3 separate regions of the Homo sapiens genome follow, and all the other regions are linked to region 2. The links are contacts of gene promoters, found by promoter capture Hi-C in blood cells and fetal thymus (Javierre and others, 2016). All regions are on one chromosome and are shown on one strand. Each heading gives the region's core, a stretch centred on a gene start or on the middle of the fragment in contact. The rest is flanking DNA. Distances are from core to core; before and after follow the strand shown.

Region 1 (3,887 bases), core at 564-3,063, 140 kb after region 2:
CACCAGGGAGCAAGATCACTGTCTAACACCTCGCTCTCCTTACCTGGCATGTCCTCTTGCTCTCTGGCATATTTTGTTCCCATCCAGTAAGAACACCTGGGCAGTACCTCACACATCACTCCCATTTCCTCCCCAGCCCCACTTTCCACCCTCCCTTCCTCCCTCCATGCTTTCTCTCTGTTCACCTGCAGCTGGGTGTGTGAGGGAGCCCTGTGTGCTGGACCAGTTATACCTTGGCAGGCACACCTGAGCATGCAGGTCCTGAAGTCTAGGAGAGCTGGAATTTTCTGCATTAGTTTACCAGAGCACCCTCCATGGAGGCAAAGTTTGCTTGCACAGATTAATAAATTCTGTACCCCATTCATTTACTGGCCAGCCATCTTTGGATGTATTTTCTATTTTCCAGCATCCTGAAGAAGAGAAAAAACAAGTGCTAAGTTTCAGGCACCCTGGTCTTAACACTAATCATGCCTGACCAAGTTTTGACATCTCTCATGGTGCCTAGTAGTCAGTAACTACAGAGTGATTAGATGTATTGGTGCCTCACAAGGAGGTTCCCTGATCTTTCAGACAGACCCAGGTATTTCTTCCCCCCCTTGTAGCTACTATGATGCCTGCTCAGCTTCAGAGTGGCGTCAAGTACTTGTAACTGTTGGTGTAACTCTCTCCACAACCCTATCATCTCTGTAAGGGCAGGGACTTGATCTATGCATCTTTCCCCCACATTTAATGTATTCAGTGTTTATGGCATTAATAAGTTAATGAATTATTTTATCTGTTAAGTCTCTGTGCAAGAAAGGTGCCCTTTTATTGAACCAAACTCTGGCTGCTCACAACTTTTATTCAGTAACGGACAGAAAGTCATGGATATTCATGAAACAACAGCAGGGGTACAGTCTAGGTCTGGTCATGACCTAACAGCTCACAACTCTTAAGATTGAAGGGGAGGCCTGAGGCCTGTTTGCTTAGCAAGTGTGTTCACCTCATTTTTCTTACAGCTTGTTTGAGATAGTCCAGGGAGGTGATTCTTTGGAAACAGACTGAATTTTCTGAACATAACTGCATATATCTGTGCTGCAAAGTACATGTAATTTTTTCAGATGACACAGATAAAAGTCCTGCCTTCTTCAGAGATTCAGATCTCATCCCCAAATTTTCAAGGCCATTGCACTATTGTAGATAATTTGAATTACATGTATTATTCTGATAATTTCCATTGAAATTAGACTTTTCACCCTTACATATTGGTGGAAAGAAGGGTATCAATTCACATTTTGTAAGCAGCAGTGTGTTTATGTGTGTCTCTCCTTTTAAAGCACAAGTGGGCCAGGCGCGGCAGTTCCCGCCTATAATTCCAGCACTCTGGCAGGGCGAGGTGGATGGATCACTTGTGCCCAAAAGTTCTAGACCAGCTTGGGCAACATGGTGAAAACCCATCCTTTAAAAAAAAAAAAATGCACTTTGGGAGGCCAAGGCGGGTGGATCACGAGGTTAGGAGTTCAAGACCAGCCTGGCCAACATGGTGAAACCCCTGTCTCTACTAAAAATACAAAAATTAGCCGGACATGGTGGCATGTGCCTGTAATCCCAGCTACTCAGGAGGCTGAGGCAGGACAATTGCTTGAACTGGGGCCCGGGAGGCAGAGGTTGCAGTGAGCTGAGATCGCACCACTGCACTCCAGCCTGGGCTACACAGTGCAACTCTGTCTCAAAAAAGAAAAAAAAATGCAAAAATTAGCCAGGTGTGGTATGGGAGGCTGAGGCGGGAGGATCCCTTGAGCCTGAGAGGTGGAGGTTGCAGAGAGCCAATATCTGGCCGCTGCACTCCAGTCTGGGTGACAGAGCAAGACCCTGTCTCAAAAAAACAAACAAACAAAAACAACACACCACCACTGACGTATGTTAGATGTGAAGAAAAATAGAAAATACAGAGAAAAGGTTAAAATATTTTGGAATCTCACTGCTTAGAGACAGCCATCGTATACATATTTGCAGCTCTTTTCCTATACATAGATATATATCTGTATAATTTTAATAGCATTTAAAATCATATAGTATAAAATGAATATCTTTAGTAGCAACAAATATATATATTTGATTGCATATTATCCATCATATGTGTGGAATACAGCTTGCAACTGTAAATGTAGATTTTATAGTCTACAATTTTTGAAACACTTAGAGTTGTTCTCATTTTCCCCACTCATGGAGAGTGTTATAGGATTGTTACATTGGGTAAGTGAAGAAATACACGGAAAGCACTCAGCAGAATGCCTGTCGAATAGTAAGTGCTCAATATTAACATTACTATTATTTTCATTGTCTGTTTCCTCAGAGTCAAGTTCTTGGAAGTAGACTTGCTAATCATATTATGCACTTTTTTGTGGGGAGGGGGAGTTGATACATTTCACCTAATTTTCAAGCAGAAAACTCCATCCCCCGAGAAGTGAGTGAGAAGACTTCTTTCCTTAGCCTTGTCAACAGTGTATACTGTCTGTATTTTTATCCAGGATCAACTGATAATTTAAAAATTATAACATGTTTGAATTTGCATTTTTTGATATTAGAGAGATTCTGTGTTTTGTTTTGTTTTTGCCACATGTGAACTGGCCATTTATATTTATTCTTTTGGGAATTACCTATTCATGTCCTAGACCGTTTTTCATTTGGTTGTTCATCTTTTTCTTATTGATTTATAAGTTGTTTTTTTTTTTTGGAGACAGAGTGTTACTCTGTCACCCAGGCTAGAGTGCAGTGGCACAACCTCGGCTCACTGCCACCTCTGCCTCCCGGGTTCAAGCAATTCTCCTGCCTCAGCCTCCCGAGTAGCTGGGATTACAGGTGCATGCCACCACACCCAGCTAATTTTTGTATTTTTAGTAGAGACGGGGTTTCACCATCTTGGCCAGGCTGGTCTCAAACTCCTGACCTCAGGCGATCTGCCCGCCTCAGCCTCCCAAAGTGCTGGGATTATAGGCATGAGCCACCATGCCCAGCCAGGAAAACACAATTTTAATTATTATGTTTAACTCTGTGAGTATGCTCTTCTGCCCAAAAATAATGGTGGTGACCAGGAATGGACACCTGCCTCAGACTGGGCCAGTCACATTCTCTACTGAAAATCTGAAATTCCAACAAAAGGCAACGAGTTAGTTGCTACCAATATTTAGCAACTACAATGAATGATTCGTGTCTATGTAATTAAATTTTTTAAGTGAGTAAATTTAGGGGCTGGTAAAACCCAGGAAGTATGCAGTACGTCTATTCTTACATTGGATTAAAAAGCAACAAAAGTGCAAAATGGTAAATACTCATTACCTCTCTCAGCCCATCCCCAGGCCTCTCCTCCTATGCCTTCCCATGAGTCAGTCATTAGAGGGTTAATGTTTGGCACAATGGTGACTGTACCCATCAGCTCATCTGCCTCAGTTCTGATTAACTGGTAATTGTGCTACTCCAGTTTTTCAACATTTTGAATATTACCCCCGCCTGCTTCCAAATAGTACTAGAAAGTCTTGCTTCACCCTCCTCTGTTGTGGAATGATGCATGCCAGGATGAGCTCAGGTTAAGACACTAATTAGATCTGAGATTCAACTTTACCATCCACAGTCACTGAATCACTTAGAGGTGGGGTTAGTATTAACCCCAGAGCACTGAAGAGACTTGTGGCTTCACTTAGGCCATGAGCACACAATCTTTCACATCTGTCCTCTCCAGTCTACACTGCACCACCTGGTACCTGGCACAGACTCTTGTCCCATCTGAGTGCTCCTCGCTCCAGACTTTTCAATGCATTTTCCATTTGGCTCCCAATTTAACCATCCTGAGTGCCTCACTGATTAACCTAGATGGTGCTGTGGCGGAAGAAGGACTCCAAGAAGACTGG
Region 2 (3,924 bases), core at 107-2,606:
AAAACCAAACACCGCATATTCTCACTCATAGGTGGGAATTGAACAATGGAGAACACATGGACACAGGAAGGGGAACATCGCACACTGGGGCCTGTTGTGGGGTGGGGGGAGGGGAGAGGGATAGCATTAGGAGATATACCTAATGTTAAATGACGAGTTAATGGGTGCAGCACACCAACATAGCATATGTATACATATGTAACAAACCTGCACGTTGTGCACATGTACCCTAAAACTTAAAGTGTAATAAAAAAAAAAAAAGTTACCGGTCTCAAGAGATTCTGTTTTAGTCTTCTACTTCTCTGTATGAGAAGTTTCCCCTTGTCTCTCTTCTCTAAGAAGTCTTTCATGAGCTCCTAAACAGAAAATCAACAAAAGTAGCCCTGAATAATATAGATGTTAGTATTAATAACTTTTAGGTCAGAAGCTCTTCCAAGTTGAAAAAGCAAAATTTGAGTACAAAAAAAGAGATGTGAGCATAATTGGAATGATGGAACGTTTTTAGCACTACTTTAATATTTTTACTACATTATAGAATGTTTAGAAAAATGAGAAAGGCAAAACAAAGAAAAAGAAACATCACCAGTAATTACTCCAGCCAGATACCATCCTAAATGACATTTGGAGGCCATGTCTCCCCTGCTGGGGTTTCCCTTGACCGTATGATGACTGACACTAGAAAGTTCACCCCTCCCCAATCTGACCCGTATACGAATGGCTCAAAGCCTTGTTAAGACCACCCTTGGGAGAATACGAGGCAGTGAGTGAGTACAACGTCAATAAAAGGAATACTCAGGGTCATTTAAGAGGGCAAGCGTGGCAGGGTTGGAGTGGGGAGGGATATTATTTCTACCTAGAACCTGTGTCCTCACCTGGCCCGCAGCCTGAGACTGTAAGACTCTAAGGAATACGGGGGACTTAGTGGGGCTCTAGACTAAGCGGGAGACACAGGCCAGGGGCTTGAGAGTCAAGGCATCTGACTTTGGGAGGCCAAGGGACCCAGAGAAAGAAAAGTCAGGGTGCTCGGAGTAGAGGTCAGTGAGACCTGGGTTTGCAGTTCGGCAGGTGAGATTCCTTGGGAGTTTAGAGAAGTGGGGGATTTTAGAGGTATTCGCTGTATGCTGGGAGAGAGAGGAGGCTTGAGGCGCTCAAAGTAGGAGACTGAACTTAGAGCAGGGTCTGGGAGTTCCTGAGCTGCGGGTCTGCGCCTGGCCACACCCTGCGTACCTCCTCCAGGTAGACATCCTCATTCCAGTTGCCTATCCGGACTCCCGGACCATACACGTTCTGCGCCATCGCTCCCTGCTGTTCAGCAAGTGGGCCTCCCTCCGACACCATGCGTTAGCGTGGCGCGTCGCCATGACGACCCGGCCCCAGGCGATTGGTCAAGGTCTGGGACCCTGCTGGCCAATAAGCGACAGCGCGCACCCTCGCCCTGGGGCGGGAGATGGGGCGTCTGGGTCAGCGGCTGTCTGTGGCCCTCCAGCCCGCCCCACTTCCACCTCTTAGATTTCCTTAACTGCAGGGTGGGCGAGAGGGAAAACCCTGGCTGACAAAGTGCTTCCGAGAGAGAAATTTAAAGCTTTCTTTCTATTAGAATCTAACCGAAAAGTGCTATCGAGTACCCCTTGCTTGTCGAGGCAACAAAGAGGAGCTTTTAAATGGAAGCACGGCTTGCTTGCAGCCTATTTTTTGTAATCAGCAGCAGCAGCAGCAGCAGCAGCAGCAGCAATTTCGCCCTAATCATAAAACAATACCTGCTCAATGTACACATTTGGAAACCAAAATCGCATAGAAAGAAGAAAGGAAAATTAATAATTTCAGGGCCTTAAAAGTAAGAAATATACCATGTTAGTATATTTCTGTTTATAGGTTTCTGAGGTTGTCCATATTTTTGCGGACTTGACAGCATCCTCCCTCCCTCCCTCCCTTGCTCCCTCCTTCCCTGGGTCTCAAAGTTAAAGGACGAACCTGTGATTTGCAGGAACTCTTAAGAAAACCAGACTCTGCTGTAGCCAGCATTAATAAAACAAAATATTATTTTCTGGGGAGGGGAGGGATACCAGTTACTGTAGGACTACCGGAGGCTTGATGCAGATTGAATGCATTCAGTAATTTACCTCTATTTAGTGTCTAGTAAGACATGACTGAAATGGAAGACAGGAGCCTCCGCTCCCTTCAGCAAACCCAGTCTAAAAGAAAAGATAGTTCATGAAAACGAATTACTTAAGGAAGACTGTGGAAAAATGCAATTAAAGATGTGCTGATGGGCTGGCGTGGTGGCTCAAGCCTATAATCCAGCACTTTGGGAAGCCGAGGCAGGAGGATCACTTGAGCCCAGGAGTTCTAGACCAGCCTGGGCAACATAGTGAGACCCCATCTCCAATTTAAAAAAAAATACATATATATATATATATATATATATATATATATATATATATATATATATGCTGATGAAGGGCCATGGAGTTGAAGGATCCTTTCTGTCTTGAGGAACTGTGAGAATGGGAATTGGATGGCCTTTGAGTGATGGGAGAGGGGCTGCTTTGGAGCTGAACTGGGAAGGATTTGAACTGGCAGGCTGAAGTGTAGAATAAAAATAGGAACATTCCCACATTCTGATGAATCCACCAGCTCTGTCAATATATCACCACATTCGAGGATACTTCTGAAGGACACATAGGACAAAGCAGTTAGATCAGATAGTATACCACTAACTGCATTTGATAAATTCAGAAACTGAGACTCAAAGAAGCTAGCAGTCTAAATTCAAACTGCTAAAAGTTGCTCAAAGAAAGGACTCAGTCCAAACTTTCCGACTCCAAAGTCATGTTTGTTTGTTTTTCCTTTTAAGTATTTTTCATATTCCTCATAAAATCAAGAATAAAACAAAGCAGCTCTAGTCTCTACATTTTTAACAAGGTTCTAATGATTGGGTCATTCAGTAAGTCCTTACACTGATACAGCTTTGCTCCCACCTACTTCCTTAGTGCTATTTTTGACAAGTATATTACATTTCTATATATAATAGACCCAATAATACAATTATACATAGTGTTTTATACAATTGCTTTAAATCACTCAGGAGAAGAAATATCTTTATTGGTGCTCTATGGTATTTTTCTATGAACACAAATTACTGCTTTGTGTTGTTTTCAACCTGAATAACTTCCTTCCATATTTCTTATAAATCAGGTCTGCTAGCAACACATTCTCTTGGTTTTTGCTTACCTTAATAAGATGCTTTTTCTGGATACATGATTCTTTGTTGATAGCGTTTTTTTCTTTCTTTCAATATTTTAAATATGCCATCCTACTACCTCTGGACTCCCTTATTTCTTTTTCTTCCAAGACAGAGTCTCACTCTATCAACCTGGCTGGAGTACAGCAGCACAATCTCGGCTCACTGCAACCTCTGCTTCCCAGGTTCAAGCAATTCTCATGCCTCAGCCTCCTGAGTACCTGGGGCTAAAGGCATGTGCCACCATGCCTGGGTAATTTTTGTATTTTTAGTAGAGATGGGGTTTTACCAGGTTGGCCAGGCTGGTCTTGAACTCCTGACCTCAAGTGATCGGCCCTCCTCAGCCTTCCAAAGTGCTGGGATTACAGGCATAAGCCACCCTGCCCAGCCATGGCCTCCATTATTTCTGATGAGAAATCAGCTATTAATCTTATTTTGCTTCCCTTACACATACTCTTGCTGCTTTCAAGATTTTTTTTGTCTTTGTCTTTAATATTTTAACTAGATATATTTGGATATTGACCTCTTTTCTTTTATCCTGCTTGAGCTGCCTGAATATGTAAATTAATGCTCTTTTCATCAAATTTGGGGAATTTTCAGGCCTTATTGTTTGGAATATTTTTTCTGATCCTTTGTCTGTCTTCTGTCTTTATGAAACTCCCATCATGTGTATATTGATGCAC
Region 3 (4,192 bases), core at 1-2,500, 130 kb before region 2:
GGGACTTCCTTGGTTCTAGGAGCCTGCTTTGCTGAGCCTGATGTAGATGAGCAGCCAAAAGGCTCACTAAGGTTTATCAAGGAAGTAGGGCCCAGGTTAACATCACAGAACACGCTGCCTCCAGGACAAGTCCTCATAAGCCAGGTCTCAGGCAGAATTTGGGAAGCCAGCTACCAAGAACGCCCTGAGACTATGTTCAATCCAAGACACATTTACTGAGAACTCCCCTTGTGCCAGGCAGGAGGTGGTGGGCAAGGGGGCGGAGCCCAAAGACTTCAAAACTCAGAATGTAATTTTGGGGTAGGCAGACAGGCTTAACTATTCATGAATGAGAACCAGAGCTATGTGCCACAGGAAGCCGCCCTGCAGAGGGGAAATACGGCTTAGTGGTGAGAGCTTAGACTTGGGAACCCCATTGTCTGGGTTCTTCTGACTCTGCCCATTATCAGCTGGCGGGTGACCTTAGCTTAGTGACTTAGCCCTCTCTGCCTCAGTTTCCTCAGCTGTAAAAGCATGGTCCTAATGGGGCCTATCTAATAGTGTCATTTTGAAGAATAAATCTATGCGAGTGCTTAAAATGGTGCCCGACACATAGCAAGTGCCTTAGAAATGTTTCTTGTCATTATTATAAATTCTAAGACTGTTTGCTACTTTCAGCATTTAATATTTGGAAAGAGTCTGGGGCTGAAGGCTGTGCTTCCTGCATGTCCACGAAAGCAGACACATCAGCTGTGAATGTGGAGGTAGCTGCTTGCTCCCTGCTCTCTGATATCGGAGATGCCGCAAGGCAGAACCAGGATCCCGGGCTGCTGACTCCCAGGCCCATGCTGTCCCCATGCCACCTGGGCAGAGGAAGCAGCAGGGCATGGGCTCTGAGCTGCCTGTGTTCATATCCATCCTGTTGCTATGAATTAGATGACCTTCGGAAGGCCACTTAACTTCTCTCAGCCTGGCCTCTGTATCTGTCAAAGGTGGATATTAACAGTACTTAGCTCTTTGGGTTGTACTCCCTTGGCTGTATAGCTGTTTGTAAAACACATCGCCTCATGCCTGGAAGGCAGCGAACATGGAATGCATGTTTTCTTTATTACTAGCATTCCCTGGATAACGAGCTGCTCTTCTCTGGATCACCCTCTCTCTTGTTGGCTTGCAGTTGCCCACACCTGATGGGCCGCTCTCTCCAAAGTCACCCAGGAAATACCCAGGTCCTGTAAGCCACTCCCTGGCCTTCCCGTCCACTGTGGATCCCACTTTCTCTTCTTCTCTCCCAGAAACAACCTTCCTCTGATAACTCCCTCTCCTCCTCCTTTGGAGGGCTGTTATGAAGACAATGTGAAATCACGCATGGACATCCGTGGTGGTTAATTTTCTGTGTCCACTTGACTGGGCCACATGGGTGCCCATATATTTAGTCAACCATTATTCTGTGTGTGTCTATGAGGGTGCTTTGGAATGAGATGAGCATTGAAATCTGTAGCCAAAGCACATCACCTGCCCTGATGCAGGTGAGCCTCATCCAATCTGCTGAAGTCCTGAATAGAGAAAAGACAGACCTCCCCTGAGTTAGAAAGCATCCTTCGTGCGTGACTGCCTTTGAACTAGGACATCAGCCTTTTTCCTGTCTTTATATTCCAACTGAAAAATCAGCCCTTCCTGGGCTTGAGCCTGCTGGCCTTTGGATGGGAACCACACCATTGGCTCTCCTGGTTCTCAGGCCTTTAGACTCTAATTAGGTCTAAACCATAGGCTTCCCTGGGTCTCCAGCTTGTCAATTCATGCTAAAGATCTTGGAACCTGCCTACCTTCATAATCCCATAAACCAACCAATTCATTATGATCAGTCTCTCGCTCTCTCTGTGTGTGTGTGTGTGTGTGTGTGTGTCTGTGTATGTGTGTCTGCGTATGTGTATGTGTGTCTATCTATACATCTCTTATTGGTTCTGTCTCCAACTAACATAGTGTCTAATTGCCTCCTAAACTTTGAGGAGTTGAGTAGAGGGAATAACTGAGTCTCCCACTCCTGTCCCCAAAACACTGCCAATCTCCTGAAGCACTCCTTCCTGGTGGAATGTAACCCCTCAATTCTCTTCAGCACAGCCTCCCAGGCAGCTACTACTGGCTGATCTTTAGCCCATCCCTGCTGGCCAGGTAGGCCTCCTGTTCCCAAGGACCTGGATCCTAGTGCATGAGGCAGCAAAGACAGGAAGCAGCTTCCCCCAGGAAGTACCCGCTAGCCCAATCCTCAGGGACCCAGCGCTGGCTGCAGATATTGGAGGGCTCCAGTGTACTCCTGTATGACCCCAGATGTGCAGAAAACCAGGGACTGGGAAAGTTCTCAGCTCAGGGTGGCACCAGGGAAGCCACCTTCTTCTAACACTAGGACACCACACTCCCAGTTTGGGAATGAAAAACACATTGACTCAAGGAAAGGAAGGGAAGAGAGAGATGAAATTCACTGAGCATCTATTATGTACTATGCAGGGAAACATTGCTTGACCGTGGAGACCCTCCTTGGGAGAGTCAGTTGGTGAGATGAAATGCTAACATAAATGACACTCACAAGACAGGCTGGGTGAGCACTGTGAGAGGAGTGCAGTTGCTTCCTGATGGGCATTTGGGAAAATGTGAAGTCCACGCCTTTGGAGAGATCAGGAGCTTTCCCAGGCAAAAGAGAACCTTAGGAAGGTTTTTGAAGGCTGGGGCAGTTTCTAGAGATAGAGATCAGAGAAGGAGGGGTGAGATGCTACAGACAGAGGGCGCTGTGTGACCAAAAGTGGCAGCGTGCAGCACAGCGTGCTTTGGCTGGGGCTGAAAGGCAAGCTGGTGGGACGTGTGTAGGGTACACTGTGCTTTATATCTGCTTAGCTCTCTGCCTGCAAGCTGACACCTGTAGTGGGAAGGTCATGGACTGAGGAGCACACAGGGCAGTTTAAATTCTGGTCCTATAGGTTTTAAGATGCATAAACCCAGCTACTCACTTTGCCAAGCCTCAGTGTCCTACTATAAAATGGGACTAACAACATATTCCTTTCTAAGCTTGTTTTAAGAATTAGAGGCAATGTTGGTAAAGCAGGTCACTAGATTATAGGAGTGAAAAGCCTTTTCGCACAGGCTTCAGAGTCATAAAGATCAGACTTGAAGTCCCAGCTGTTTCTCCTCAACAGTGTGAATGTGCATAAATCCTTTAACTTGCCCAAGCTGTAGCTCCCTCTTCTACCTCTTAGGAGTATGTGCAGATGAAATAAAGCGATCCACGCAAAGCCATAGTTCAGGGTCCCCCCGCGTGCCGTGTTCTCTACATGTTAGCTCTTAATAGCACACACGTGGCAGCAGTTGCAAGTGCCTGGCACAAGGGGGCGCTCAATGGATGACCATTTCTAATGCGGTTCTCAGCCCAGAGATGGTTGTACCTTCTTGCAGCTACTAAGCGAGACCCTCTCCTCTGTAGTTCTGCGGACAAAAAAACTACTGGGAAGGCCTCTTCAGCCACTGTTAATGTTGGGCCCCTCCCTTCTCCCCGGGAGAAACTCTTCTCTGAGTTTCCCTCCTTCCATTCTTACCGCAGCCTTTCCTGCTGGACAGTCCAATTGTTGAGAGAGGGACTTCCTGTTACTGCAGAGAGAGTAAGGCTGCCTGTCCGTGGGCGCTGCAGATTTCTTGGTCATTGGAAAATCAATTTCTCTTGTGCAATAGGGATTAACACCTAAACCAGAAGAGGAAAAACAGCAAGAAATCATTTGTGCTCTCAAAATGCAAAGTTCAACTAAGAACAATATCAGCCCCTCATTAGCCAGGGGCCAGTGTGACTGTAAACCACTTAACACCCTGTGCCAGGTGCGTGGTGGGGAGAGGTGGCCGCGGAAGACATGAGCAGCATTGTCATGATCTCCACGCATGCTGTCTGTACTGCAGGGTGCAGATGGGACTCTCACTTCCATTTTACCTCCATTCAATGCAACAAGAGTTGACAGGCATTTCCTGCAAGTCAATCAGTGTGCTGAGCTCTCAGAAACCACAATGCTGCATCAGATCCAGGCCCCGGTGTTTTCAATCCCAACCAAGGAGAGAAAGGAGGAAAACACAAAGGTTTCCGAGGACAAGCACAAACAGGCGAGACCCAGTAGGAACAGGGGCAGGGGAGATCCTATCTGACTGGCTCTTACACAGGCACTCACACACAGGGATACACACA

What was found. The method cuts DNA at HindIII sites, captures the fragments that hold promoters and counts their contacts. A CHiCAGO score of 5 or more calls a contact.
Region 1: a fragment that was not itself captured here is called in contact with the fragment with the promoter of CFAP161 in region 2 in 1 of 17 cell types (megakaryocytes); the score reaches 5.5 in megakaryocytes.
Region 3: a fragment that was not itself captured here is called in contact with the fragment with the promoter of CFAP161 in region 2 in 1 of 17 cell types (megakaryocytes); the score reaches 6.1 in megakaryocytes.

The regions. Positions count from the first base shown.
Region 1 is chr15:80,992,305-80,996,191 of GRCh38, reverse strand. No RefSeq gene overlaps it. Among named protein-coding and RNA genes, the nearest start is that of MIR4514, 3.2 kb to the left of the region's middle. The HindIII fragment of the contact is 7,858 bases long and covers 1-3,887 here.
Region 2 is chr15:81,131,702-81,135,625 of GRCh38, reverse strand. CFAP161 (cilia and flagella associated protein 161) reads right to left here and starts at 1,356. Exons shown (of 7, transcript NM_173528.4): 1 at 1,228-1,356; 2 at 267-356. The coding sequence starts at 1,296. The HindIII fragment of the contact is 5,504 bases long and covers 1-1,584 here.
Region 3 is chr15:81,265,170-81,269,361 of GRCh38, reverse strand. It overlaps IL16 (interleukin 16), which reads right to left. Exons shown (of 19, transcript NM_172217.5): 4 at 3,561-3,703. Among named protein-coding and RNA genes, the nearest start is that of STARD5, 57 kb to the left of the region's middle. RefSeq lists an enhancer at 3,994-4,063. The HindIII fragment of the contact is 3,577 bases long and covers 1-3,038 here.